Linked DNA regions of Homo sapiens: regions 2 and 3 are each linked to region 1. The links are contacts of gene promoters, found by promoter capture Hi-C in blood cells and fetal thymus (Javierre and others, 2016). All regions are on one chromosome and are shown on one strand. Each heading gives the region's core, a stretch centred on a gene start or on the middle of the fragment in contact. The rest is flanking DNA. Distances are from core to core; before and after follow the strand shown.

The links. Contacts are between HindIII fragments. The CHiCAGO score rates a contact against its expected background, and 5 or more counts as called.
Region 2: the fragment with the promoter of MDH1B here is called in contact with the fragment with the promoter of LANCL1 in region 1 in 3 of 17 cell types (total CD8 T cells, naive CD8 T cells and non-activated CD4 T cells); the score reaches 8.1 in total CD8 T cells.
Region 3: a contact is called between the fragment with the promoter of ATIC here and the fragment with the promoter of LANCL1 in region 1, in 3 of 17 cell types (total CD4 T cells, naive CD8 T cells and activated CD4 T cells). The highest score is 7.3, in total CD4 T cells.

The regions. Positions count from the first base shown.
Region 1 is chr2:210,474,276-210,478,117 of GRCh38, forward strand. It overlaps LANCL1 (LanC like glutathione S-transferase 1), which reads right to left and starts at 2,484. Exons shown (of 10, transcript NM_006055.3): 1 at 2,345-2,484; 2 at 2,041-2,137. The coding sequence starts at 2,121. It also overlaps a transcript of CPS1 not described here. The HindIII fragment of the contact is 5,337 bases long and covers 1,199-3,842 here.
Region 2 is chr2:206,763,471-206,767,214 of GRCh38, forward strand. It overlaps MDH1B (malate dehydrogenase 1B), which reads right to left and starts at 1,858. Exons shown (of 12, transcript NM_001039845.3): 1 at 1,780-1,858. The coding sequence starts at 1,801. FASTKD2 (FAST kinase domains 2) reads left to right here and starts at 2,136. Exons shown (of 12, transcript NM_001136193.2): 1 at 2,136-2,277; 2 at 3,174-3,744. The coding sequence starts at 3,224. RefSeq lists enhancers at 1,637-1,776, 2,027-2,406. The HindIII fragment of the contact is 1,569 bases long and covers 1,346-2,914 here.
Region 3 is chr2:215,310,356-215,313,956 of GRCh38, forward strand. ATIC (5-aminoimidazole-4-carboxamide ribonucleotide formyltransferase/IMP cyclohydrolase) reads left to right here and starts at 1,704. Exons shown (of 16, transcript NM_004044.7): 1 at 1,704-1,806; 2 at 2,143-2,269. The coding sequence starts at 1,788. LOC124907975 (a long non-coding RNA gene) reads right to left here and starts at 1,617. Exons shown (of 2, transcript XR_007088075.1): 1 at 324-1,617. RefSeq lists an enhancer at 1,408-2,058 and silencers at 1,589-1,668, 1,679-2,048. The HindIII fragment of the contact is 8,450 bases long and covers 1-3,601 here.

The sequences.
Region 1 (3,842 bases), core at 1,234-3,733:
GATCCTCCGTGTTCAACATTACACAATTTTAGAACTGGTATGCTACTTCCTTTCTAGGACCTGTCCAAAAACTACGTTAGGCAATAAACTACATTATTACTCTTGGGTCAGGGTTTAAATTTGTGAATTTTTCCCCTTAGAAACAAAGGGTTAAATTTGGCCCGACATGGTGGCTCACACCTGTAATCCCGGCACTTTGGGAGGCTGAGATGGGTGGATCACTTGAGGTCAGGAGTTCGACACCAGCCTGGCCAACATGGTGAAACCCTGCCTCTACTAAAAATACAAAAAAAAAAAAAAATTAGCCAGGTGCGGTGGTGTGCACCTGTAATCCCAGCTACTCAGGAGGCTGGGGCATGAGAGTCACTTGGGCCTGGGAGGCAGAAGTTGCAGTGAGCCAAGACTGTGCCTCTGCACTCCAGCCTGGGCTCAGGGTGAGACTCCGTCTAAAAAAATAAAAATAAAAATAAATAAATAAATAAATAAAGGGTTAAATTCATAAAAAGCATTTACTTTATAGGCAGTCTAAATAGGTACATTTTATTGAAGGTTTCTGTCACTAGGACAATCCTCAACTGTTCTCTTTGCCAAGTCAGTATGAAGCAGCAAGTCCTCCTCCCGCAAGACAAGACACATACTTCAGCTTGAGAATCTGCACAGCTAAGCAGAATGCAGGCCCAAATGGCCAAAGGGAATCCATCTGACCTGAAGATAATTATAAAAAGCTTTGTTTGGGCAGCTTAATACTAGTCTTAAAATAATCAGATTGACTCAAACTCCATATACATTTTGGTAGCCTTCTACCCTACACCTCTTCTTCATCTCTTTGATTCCTCCTACCTGCATTACTGACCCAAGTTAATCTATAATGTGACAAGTGTTTTAAGGAAAAAAACAACCATCAGACCCACAGATTAATTTGACAGGGATGAAATCTGTAAGGCCTTTATATCACATAAAATGTCTTTTGTATGGCTGACAAGTTTCAAAGAAATAAACTGGTAAAATTTTTAAAGCGTGTGCCTTGTTTCCAACTTAACTCATTTTCAAAACTAAATTTTATTTTTTTATTTTTTAGAGACAGGGTCTCTGTCACCCAGGCTAGAGTGCAGTGGTGCAATCATAGCTCACTACAGCCTCGAATCTCCTAGGCTCCAGCAATTCTCCCGCCTCAGCCTCCCAAGTAGCTGGGACTACAAGCTTTCCACCACACCTGGCTAATTTTTAAAAAAATTTTAGTAGAGATAAGGTCCTGCTGTGTTGCACAGGCTGGTCTCAAACTCGTGGCCTTAAGCAATCCTCCTGCCTTGATTTCCCAAAGTGTCGGGATTAATGGTGTGAGCCACTGCACCCAGCCAAAAGTAGGTATTCTTAAAAATATCTGTATTCCCTCTTAACAATTATGTTCACCCAATGAGGCATGAGAAAACACAGGCCCCTAGTATTTTACATCCAGGTTCTCTTTTGCACAGTGATTTGTGACATGCTAACCAGTTTAATTTACAAGTTTCTTTTTTTTTGTTTTCCAGCTGTGGATATGCCCTGTGGAGTGACACCGGTACAAAGAACTTCAGGTTTCCTAGGTCCCCAAATTCTCTAAGCACTAACAGTTTAAAGACGTCCTTACCATACACCACCGTTTGCTCTCATCATTACCCTGAACGCACTTGTGTATAATCACAAAGGAGTAACACGGCACATGTGAATACCGTTAGGATTCTTCACCTCTTTTTAAGAAGCAAACCAAAATACATTAAAAAATGCCAATTACATAGTAAACTACATATTTGCCAATTTTTAAAATTTATACTATCAATAATTGAGTTTATTTCAATTAATAATGTTAACAATGACACATTTAACATTATGTTAGAGCTCAATTTGTATATATTAACATGTATTTTTAAATAATTTACGTATTTATCGTCGAATCATGTATTTTTTTAAAGGGGGATGCTCAACTCTCTCAGGCAAAAATGAGCACCTTTCCGAACACCGTGGGGAGAGGCAGGGATGCAGGCAGACATATCCTAAACTCACCCTCCCGGCAGCATCAAAGTAGCCTTCGGCCAGGGATTTGTTATAATCAGCATAAGGATTCGGGAAGGCCCTTTGAGCCATGACGCCGGAAGCAAGCCTGCAGAACAGGGGAAAAACAGAAACTAGGTTGAGATAGGGGCCTCGGCCGAGTTGCGAGGGCGGCGGCGGCGCCCAGGTATCCCCCTTCCTCCAGCTCCAGGGCCATCGAGCCGTCTCGGCGGTCCGAGTGGACCTCGGGCCCACTGCGGCCCAACTGCTAGGACATGGCGCCTTCGCGAAAAAGCTGCCAGGGCCCTTAACCCACCCGGACAAAGAGGCCCCGTTTTGCAACCCCGTTCCCACGCCCGCGACTTGAAGCAAGTGCGCCTCCCGCGTCCTGAAGCCCTTCTCGGCCCTGGCCTCTCACCCCGCAGCCCCGGACAGTAACAGAAGGGCTATTTTACCGCCCAGTTCCTGCCAGGAGGGCCAATCAGAGCCTTCGCCGTTCCCGAGACCCGCCCCCTTCTCTCTTACAGTTTGTTAAAGACACAGGCGTGTAATTTCTAAAGGATAACGCAGGGTATTTTAATTACTGGGTAGCAGAAGTGAGGACCTAGAATCACGCGGAGATGTGACCAATATTTCCTACCCTTCTTTAATTTTTCTTATTTTTAAAAAGTCAAATTTAAGTCCAGAGTCATAAGAAGTATATATTTTTTTAACCTGGAGAAGAAACAGACTGCTTTTAGATCTGAACATGCTGGTATTTCTGCTGTTCGCAATAGATAAAATTTGGCGGGGGGTGGGGGGATAATGTCTCTCCAGGGACTTGCCAATCTTTTCTTTTCATTTCTTAAAACAAACAAACAAAAAAGCACCACCATCATTAACAACAACAACAACAAAAATATGCCCAAAGGACAGGATATCAAATAGCAGTTGATAATACTTTGGGGAAAGCACATGAAAACACAAATTACAGCTCTTAGGAAATTTATTCTGTTCCTTAGCCTAAATTGGACTATAATACTGGATAACAAAGCTCTAAAAAATACTGAAAACCAACACAGCAGGAGATCCACAACATTCAATTTCAATGTTTTAACAGTCCCTGCTATCTGAAACATTTTTCTTTCATTTAAAATTAAATCCCACCTGGTACATATTAGGCCCATTCTATTGCTCAGAGAATTTTGGAGTTCAGTTAAAAAGTCAGCCTCACTCTCTCCTTTTCCTTCTCTCCGGTTTCAATGAAGAGTCCTAGCTCCAGACCTCCAACTGGAGAAGCTCAGTCTCCACCCCAACTCCCTCCCTCCTTGGCCTAAGTTTGTCCTTCTGAGGCTGCCATCCCAAACTCTACTCCTAATCCCTCCCCACACCCAGGTTTGCTCTTTTAAAATAGTTGCTTTCTTAGGAAATGTAGTTGCTTTCTTAACCTCATCAAATTCATGAAGATTTAGCCGAGGCCCATGGTGAGTCTTAAGCTGGATATCTCTCATGTTTTAAAAGATGGGTGTTTGAAGGAGCAACTCACAAGAGAGAAAAGGAAAACGAGAGACATTTTATCAATTATTTTTTCTTTAATGATTAAAGGCTATCCATTTATCCCACTCACAGTCTTTAAGCAATTAAATATTACTGTTGTTAAGCAAGGCAGGATGGTAATTGTATATTTTCATAGTATGCCTCTATCTTATTTTACTAATCCTTTCCCCTAATGATGGACATTGTTTCTAACTTCCATACTACAAATAATATTCTTGGAACATGTGCTTTTATGAATCTGTGTGAGTATCCCTGAGACATACACCCAGCAGTCAATT
Region 2 (3,744 bases), core at 608-3,107, 3.7 Mb before region 1:
AGTCTCCTAACTGGTTTCTTGGTATCCAGTCTTTTTGTCCCACACTATAGCCGTAACATTCAGATAAAATTCAGATTTGATTAGGCCCTCCTCCCCTTCTAAAAACCTTTCATGTACTCTGGATAAAGTCTAAACTACTGAATGTGGCTCAAAAGAATCTACATTATCTAACTCTAGCCTCACCTTATGAAATTCTCTTCCTTGTACTATTTGCTTCAGTCCTAATAAACTTATTTCAATTTTATACTTATTTTATATTCTCAATTGTCACCAAACTAGTTCTCCTTGCTCTAACCCCACTCCCAGTTACCCATGCCTAAATTGCTCCCCTCCTTTCTACCTCTTCTCTGTTAGGTAATTCATTATCATCTTTCAGGTATCTGCTTAAAATCTCTCCCTCTGGGAAACCCTTACCTGATTAAGTAAGGTCCCTGCTATCGTTCCTATAGAACCCTGCCCTGTCAGTGTCATACATGCAACATTCTCTGTGTGTTTTCCACTGACTTCCCACCATGTGGTTAGTCAGTGTTCAAAAATATTCTTCTGGGCCAGGTGTGGTGGTGCATGCCTGTAATCTTGGCACTTTGGGAGGTCAAGGTGGGCAAATCACTTGAGCGTAGGAGTTCAAGACCAGCGTGGGCAACATGACAAAACCCCATCTCTACAAAAATACAAAAATTAGCTGGGCATGCTGGTGTATGCCTGTAGTCCCAGCTACTTGGGAGGCTGAGGTGGGAGGATCGCTTGAGCCCAGGAGGTCAAAGCTGCTGTGAGCCACGATTGCACCACTGCAATCCAGCCTGGGTGACAAAGTGAGAGCCTGTCTCAAAAAAAAAAAAAAATCTCCTGTGGATGGTAGATGTCAATTGTGTTCAATGCATCAAAGAGATCAAATAAGTCAAAGACTAAACAGCTTCTATAAAAGTCAGTGGTGACTTTGGTGACAGCAGTTTCTGTCAGGAAGCAGAAGTAGAAGCCTTCTTCCAAGACTGATTGGAAGGCAGAACTGGAGATGGAAGAGCAGTCTACTCTTTTAAGAAACTTTACGAGGAGAGGAGGTAGGTACCATGGATTGTTGTAATAAAAGCCTTCTCAGTTGAGTCCTTGCTGTCAACCAGCACTTTCAATCATTCTCTCCGTTGCTGCCAAGACAGGCTTCCTAAAATGCAAACTCATTAAGACTACTCTCCTGCTTAAAATTTTTCTATAATTCCTCATTGCTTTCAGGATACAGTTCAAACACCTTTGCTTGACCTACATGAAATGCAAGGACCTGGCTCCTGCTCCTGTTGTAGCCCCAGGTCCTGTCACGCCCCACATATCCAGATCTTCTGTTAGGCCAGGAAGCTTCCTGCCTCTCTGCTTTTATTTGGAATAGCCTCCTCAGCTCACACCTTCACAACTCAGCTCCTGTAATACCTTCCCCAGCCAGTTCCTTGTGTCCACCTCTCCCTCATCCCCCAAACCCAGATTAGGAGTCTACGCTCCCAGAGGCCTGTGCAGGTCTCCTTCATCGCGTTAATCACACCGTATCAAAAGTACATGTTCTGTGCCCCATGAGACTGAAAGCTCCTCTAAGGCAGGGATATGTTTCCCTCCATTGCATCCCCAGTGTCCCACAATGCTTGGCGCACCGTCACGGTCCAGTAAAAAACTTTGAATAAATCTATAGCAAAGCATGGAGCGGTCCGTATAGAGGCTGCCAAGCCGAGCGGCCATGGGAGGTGAGCTGTTGTCGGCGTTTTGAGCAATCTGCGGGCGGACGCGGGGATCACTCACCCGCGATGACGAATTTGGCCATGGTCGAGAGAGACTCAGAGGCAGGGACCGCGGCTTCGCGGTTTCCTGGCAACCACGCAGCCAAGGGCAAGGCGCAGGCGCACTACAAAGTCTGGCGCCCAGCAGAGGTTAGGTGTTTAAAGTTAGGACCTGAATGGGTTACGTTGCGATACACGATCAAACATCGCCCTTATAAGCTCTGTGGTATCCCCGAGCCCCACTCCTGTATGCAGGGAAATTAGTCATTCTCCTTGGTAAACTTTCTTCAAGTAAGTCCTTCAGCTACAGCCGCGAACATATGCTTTTTGACCTTTGAGGGAATCCGTAAGATCTCGTGAGAAGCGCAGCTTCTCGGGGAAGCTGTCATGGCTGCTCCTGTACGTAGTCACGGTCTTGTGCTCTAAGGTGAGTGGAGGACGAGCTTGGGCTTAGCGGCAGCCCGTATCACATCCTAGACTTTTTACTTCGAGGAGAAGAGTCTCACGAGTTGTCCTGGAAGTAAGTTTAAAGGAGGTGGGTTAATGCTGGGCGGCCCAGCTGCGGAAGGACAGGCTCTTGAAGTTGGTTCTGGGGTCTGGTGAGGCTGGCTGGTTGTATAAGATCTTCCTCTTAAGCGCAGGCCACGTGCAGACATCGCTTTCGTTTTCTGCTTCTTCCACTGAGCCGTTCTACCTGCCCAGGTCCCTATTCTTGATGGTCTGGGTTCGGCCGTTGCTAAATCGTCATGTTGAAAATGATCTATCAGCCGGGCGCGGTGACTCACGCCTTGGGAGGCCGAGGCGGGTGGATTACCTGAGGTCAGGAGTTCAGGACCAGCCTGGCCAACATGGTGAAACTCCGTCTTTACAAAAAATACAAAAATTAGCCGGGCGTGGTGGCATACGCCTGTAATCCCAGCTACTTGGGAGGCTGAGACAGGAGAATTGCTTGAACCTGGGAGGTGGAGGTTGCAGTGAGCCAAGATCGCGCCACTGCACTCTAGCCTGGGGGACATAGCAAGACTTTGTCTCAAAAAAAAAAAAAAAAAAAAAAAAAACAGAGAAGAGAAAAGAAAATGATCTATCAATGCTAATCCCCTAATTTTCACCGAGGACATTTCCATAACAATGCCAACAAAAGTCTCTCCTACAGAGAAAGCTTTATGGAACGCTTTTGCACCAGAAAAATCTCATTAATACAATGACTACTTCCAAAGTGACCTGGCTTCTTTGAAACTGGACACATTGTGGTAGATTGGAGGGAGCCCACATTGGTAAAAAAAACTTTTACTGTTTTATGTAAATGTTTAATGGCTCCATAGGTTCCCCATTTTCTCTTCTGTTAAATGCATTTCATTTCTTTAAGTAAAAGTTTTGTTTTAATTTTTATTCTTTTCATTACTTCTTCCCCTACAGGAAAACGACAGCACGTGTTCTTTTTCACTAGTAGAAGTGACGTTGGTTTCATGTTGACAACTTTGAAGCCATTTGGAAGTGTTTCAGTGGAGAGCAAAATGAATAACAAAGCGGGCTCCTTTTTCTGGAACCTTAGACAATTCAGTACATTAGTTTCAACAAGCAGAACTATGAGGCTATGTTGTTTGGGACTTTGCAAACCAAAAATAGTTCATTCAAACTGGAACATTTTAAATAACTTTCATAACAGAATGCAATCAACTGATATCATTAGATATCTCTTTCAGGATGCATTCATTTTTAAATCAGATGTTGGCTTTCAAACAAAGGGCATAAGCACTCTAACAGCCCTTAGAATTGAAAGACTACTTTATGCTAAAAGACTGTTTTTTGACTCAAAGCAGTCTCTTGTCCCTGTTGATAAATCTGATGATGAATTGAAGAAAGTAAACCTTAATCATGAAGTCTCCAATGAAGATGTTCTTACCAAGGAAACAAAACCAAACCGTATCAGCAGTAGAAAACTGTCTGAGGAATGTAATTCCCTGAGTGATGTGTTAGATGCATTTTC
Region 3 (3,601 bases), core at 454-2,953, 4.8 Mb after region 1:
AAAAAAAAAAAAAAAATTGATTCTAGTCAATAGGTATTTATTTTGGGGAGTAAAGAGATGGGAAGAATTAGAGAAAGGAAGAGGAAAAACAAAAATAAATAGCATGCAGATAATGAGAAAATAGACTCATTTTTACAGCTGTGAGCTCAGACTAAAAGATAAACAATGCTATTACTTTGGAATATAATTCTAATAACACAAAAAAGACTCATAGACCACAATATGTATTTATTTTGTGGCAAAGGTGTCATTTTTAGAAAGAAACAAATGTGTTCAATTTTGCTTTCCCTGTTTTTAATGAATTAAGAAAGGTCTTCTCTTACCTTCTTTTGACTGTCATCATTCCTCTCATCCAGGAATATTTACAGGTTTGCAAGAAGACACCATCTTTAAGTAGTTTTTAGGCACTTTTACAATACTGACTAAATTGTATAAAATAGTATTATAAATTAATATTTAAATTATAATTTTATGACGTGAAAATCAACAACGAATGTCAATTTCACTTCGTTTTGACTGTCATCTGTGGCCTCTGGAGTCCCTCACTTAAATCATTGGTCCTTGGTTTTATTTTTTAAGCCTATTAAAAAGGAGGATGGGGCCGGGCACGGTGGCTCACACCTGTAATCCCAGCACTTTGGGAGGCTGAGGTGGACAGATCATTTGAGGTCAGGAGTTGAAGACCGGCCTGGCCAACACCGTGAAACCCCATCTCTACTAAATATACAAAAAAAAAAAAAAAAAAGTACAACAACAACAAAAAATTAGACGGGTGTGGAGGCAGAGGCAGGAGAATTTCTTGAACCTGGGAGGCAGAGGTTGCAGTGAGCTGAGATGGTGCCACTGCTCTCCAGTCTGGGAGACAGAGCGAGACCCTGTCTCAAAACAAACAAGCAAACAAGCAAGCAAGCAAACAAACAAAAAACAAGTTGGGCATGGTGGCTCACCCCTGTAATCCCAGCACTTTGGGAAGCCGAGGCAGGCGGATCACCTGAGGTCAGGAGTTTGAGACCAGCTTGGCCAACATGGCGAAACCCCATGTCTACTAAAAATACAAAAATTAGCCGGGCATCGTGGCGCCTGCCTATAATTCCAGCTACTCGGGAGGCTGAGGCAGGATAAACTCTTGAACCCGGGATGTGGAGGTTGCAGGTTGCACGTGACATAGCCGAGATCGCGCCATTGCACTCCAGCCTGGGCAACAAAAGCGAAACTCCATCTCAAAAAAAAAAAAAAAAAACAAAAAAAACAAAAAAACCCAGAAAAACAAAAAAACAACAAACAAAAAGGGAGGATGGTAGATAACTGTCCAGATACTTTCCAGCTTTGCCGCTATATGAACTATTCCTTTTGTTTAGTTTTCAGCATGGGAGCTTCTGGCACTTTTACGTACTTTCCAGCTTCTGGGGACCGGCTGCCTAGAATAACAGGCATTTGCCCCAGAGGCCGTGGAGTGGCCTCACTTTGGGGTCGTGGGCAGATCGCTGGCTCCCACGCCTGGACTTCGGGATCGCAGGCAGGATCCCTTCCAGCCCAAGCACTCCGCCCAGGCGCGCCAGGCAGAGCCCCACCCCATCCCGCCGTTCCCTTCAGCCCCGGGGCGCGGATCTTGCATCTGAAACTGAGCAGAGCAGGGCGCCGGGCAGGGCCGGCGGGCCACGTGATAAGCCCGGAAACAGCTCCGCCCCCTCGCTTCCTGAGCCGCCACATCCCGGCAGCCCTCCTACCTGCGCACGTGGTGCCGCCGCTGCTGCCTCCCGCTCGCCCTGAACCCAGTGCCTGCAGCCATGGCTCCCGGCCAGCTCGGTGAGGCCCTAGCGGAGCGGCGCGGTCTGCGTCCTCGCCTGCGGCCCCCCACGCTCCCGCCTTGGCGGCGGCCGGCGGGACCCGGCACTGCAGGGGCGGCGCTGCGGGATTGAAAGCCAGCGTCCCCGCTCCCCGGCCGGGCCGCAGCCTGCGTGGGGCCCGCCTTAGAGCAGCTCGCGGGTGTAAGACCTGGGGAGGCCCGGACCAGGCCTGCGAACGCAGGGTCCAGGTGCTGGCCTTGCGATTCGAGAATCTCCTCCCCCAGACCCTCCCAAGGCCTTGCAGAACACAGTGCAATGTGCTGCGAATCATGAGAAAAAATGTCTTCTCTTTCAGCCTTATTTAGTGTCTCTGACAAAACCGGCCTTGTGGAATTTGCAAGAAACCTGACCGCTCTTGGTTTGAATCTGGTCGCTTCCGGAGGGACTGCAAAAGCTCTCAGGGATGCTGGTCTGGCAGTCAGGTAAGGCATAGCTAGTTCCATCAGAAAGGAGTGTGATCACATTAACCAGGAAGTATTGTATTCCAGGCACCAGCAGCAAAACGCCTTATTTACTCCTCCCAGTAGCGCTGTGAGGTTGGTGTAATACTTCCCCACTTTATGGGGAAAAAAAGTGAGGCTCAGAGAGATTTAGCAACTTTTAAGACCCTGGACGGCTGGGCTAGGTGGCTCACGCATGTAATCCCAGCACTTTGGGAGGCCGAGGTGGGCTGATCACTTACGGTCAAGAGTTCGAGACCAGCCTGGCCAACATGGTGAAACCCGTCTCTACTAAAAATACAAAAATTAGCCGGTATGGTGGCACACGCCTGTAATCCCAGCTACTGGGAAGGCTGAGGCAGGAGAATCGCTTGAACCTAGGAGGCGGAGGTTGTGGTGAGCCGAGATGGCACTACTGCACTCCATCCTGGGTGACAGAGAAAGACCCTGGACAACACACTGGACAGATTTAGCATCTTCTGCACAAGTTTAAACAGTTGAGTAAGGGAAAAGTAGGATTGGAACCCGTGCTGTTCCTGATTTTAGGACACTAGTCTTAGCCCCTTCCTTAAACAGATTAACTTAGGTGGGCCACTTGTTATGCAAGGAAAACTTCAGTTACTTTGACTGGTGATTTAATAAAACTCGACATCATGAAGATTCCAATTTACCTGCCTTCCCTTAGAATCTCTGGTAACCATATGAAGGTGCAAATCATTCATTCCCACGTTCACAAGCCCTTCATTAGCTGACTAGGCCATGGAAAGAAGGGACTTAGAAATGATTAACCAGGATGCCATTGCTGATGTCAAGGAGTGGCATTCTGGGAGGAGAGGGAGGAAGTCTACTGAAAGGTAGAAAAATGAAAAAAACTATAGGATAGCTATTTAATAAACGGCAGTGAGAGTTGGGAGGAACGAGATGACCACCCCTGAAACATATTTTAGAATGAAAGAGATGAAGGATATCTGTCTGCTTTTTGTTGCCATGTGGAAAATTTGCTTCTTGGTTTCTAGATCCATGTAGAGGTAGGTTATTACCTTTTCTTTGTGCAGTTCCCAGCTATGTGAGCAGTACACAGCTTCCCTAAGTTTAACAAGTTCAGATGGTAAGAATGCCTTACTTTATTAACAAATACATAACTGTATATTTTCGGATGTCTTTTTGCGTCTTGTCTCTGTGGTTTTCATGGGAAACCTGTGAGAATCGTGGCAGGCAAGTTGGCTCTTTGCTCATCAGCAACCGAATGAGAATTCAAAGTCCAGACCTGCGTGCTTTCCATTGGGCCAAGTTGGGTCCTCCTATGGTAATGGA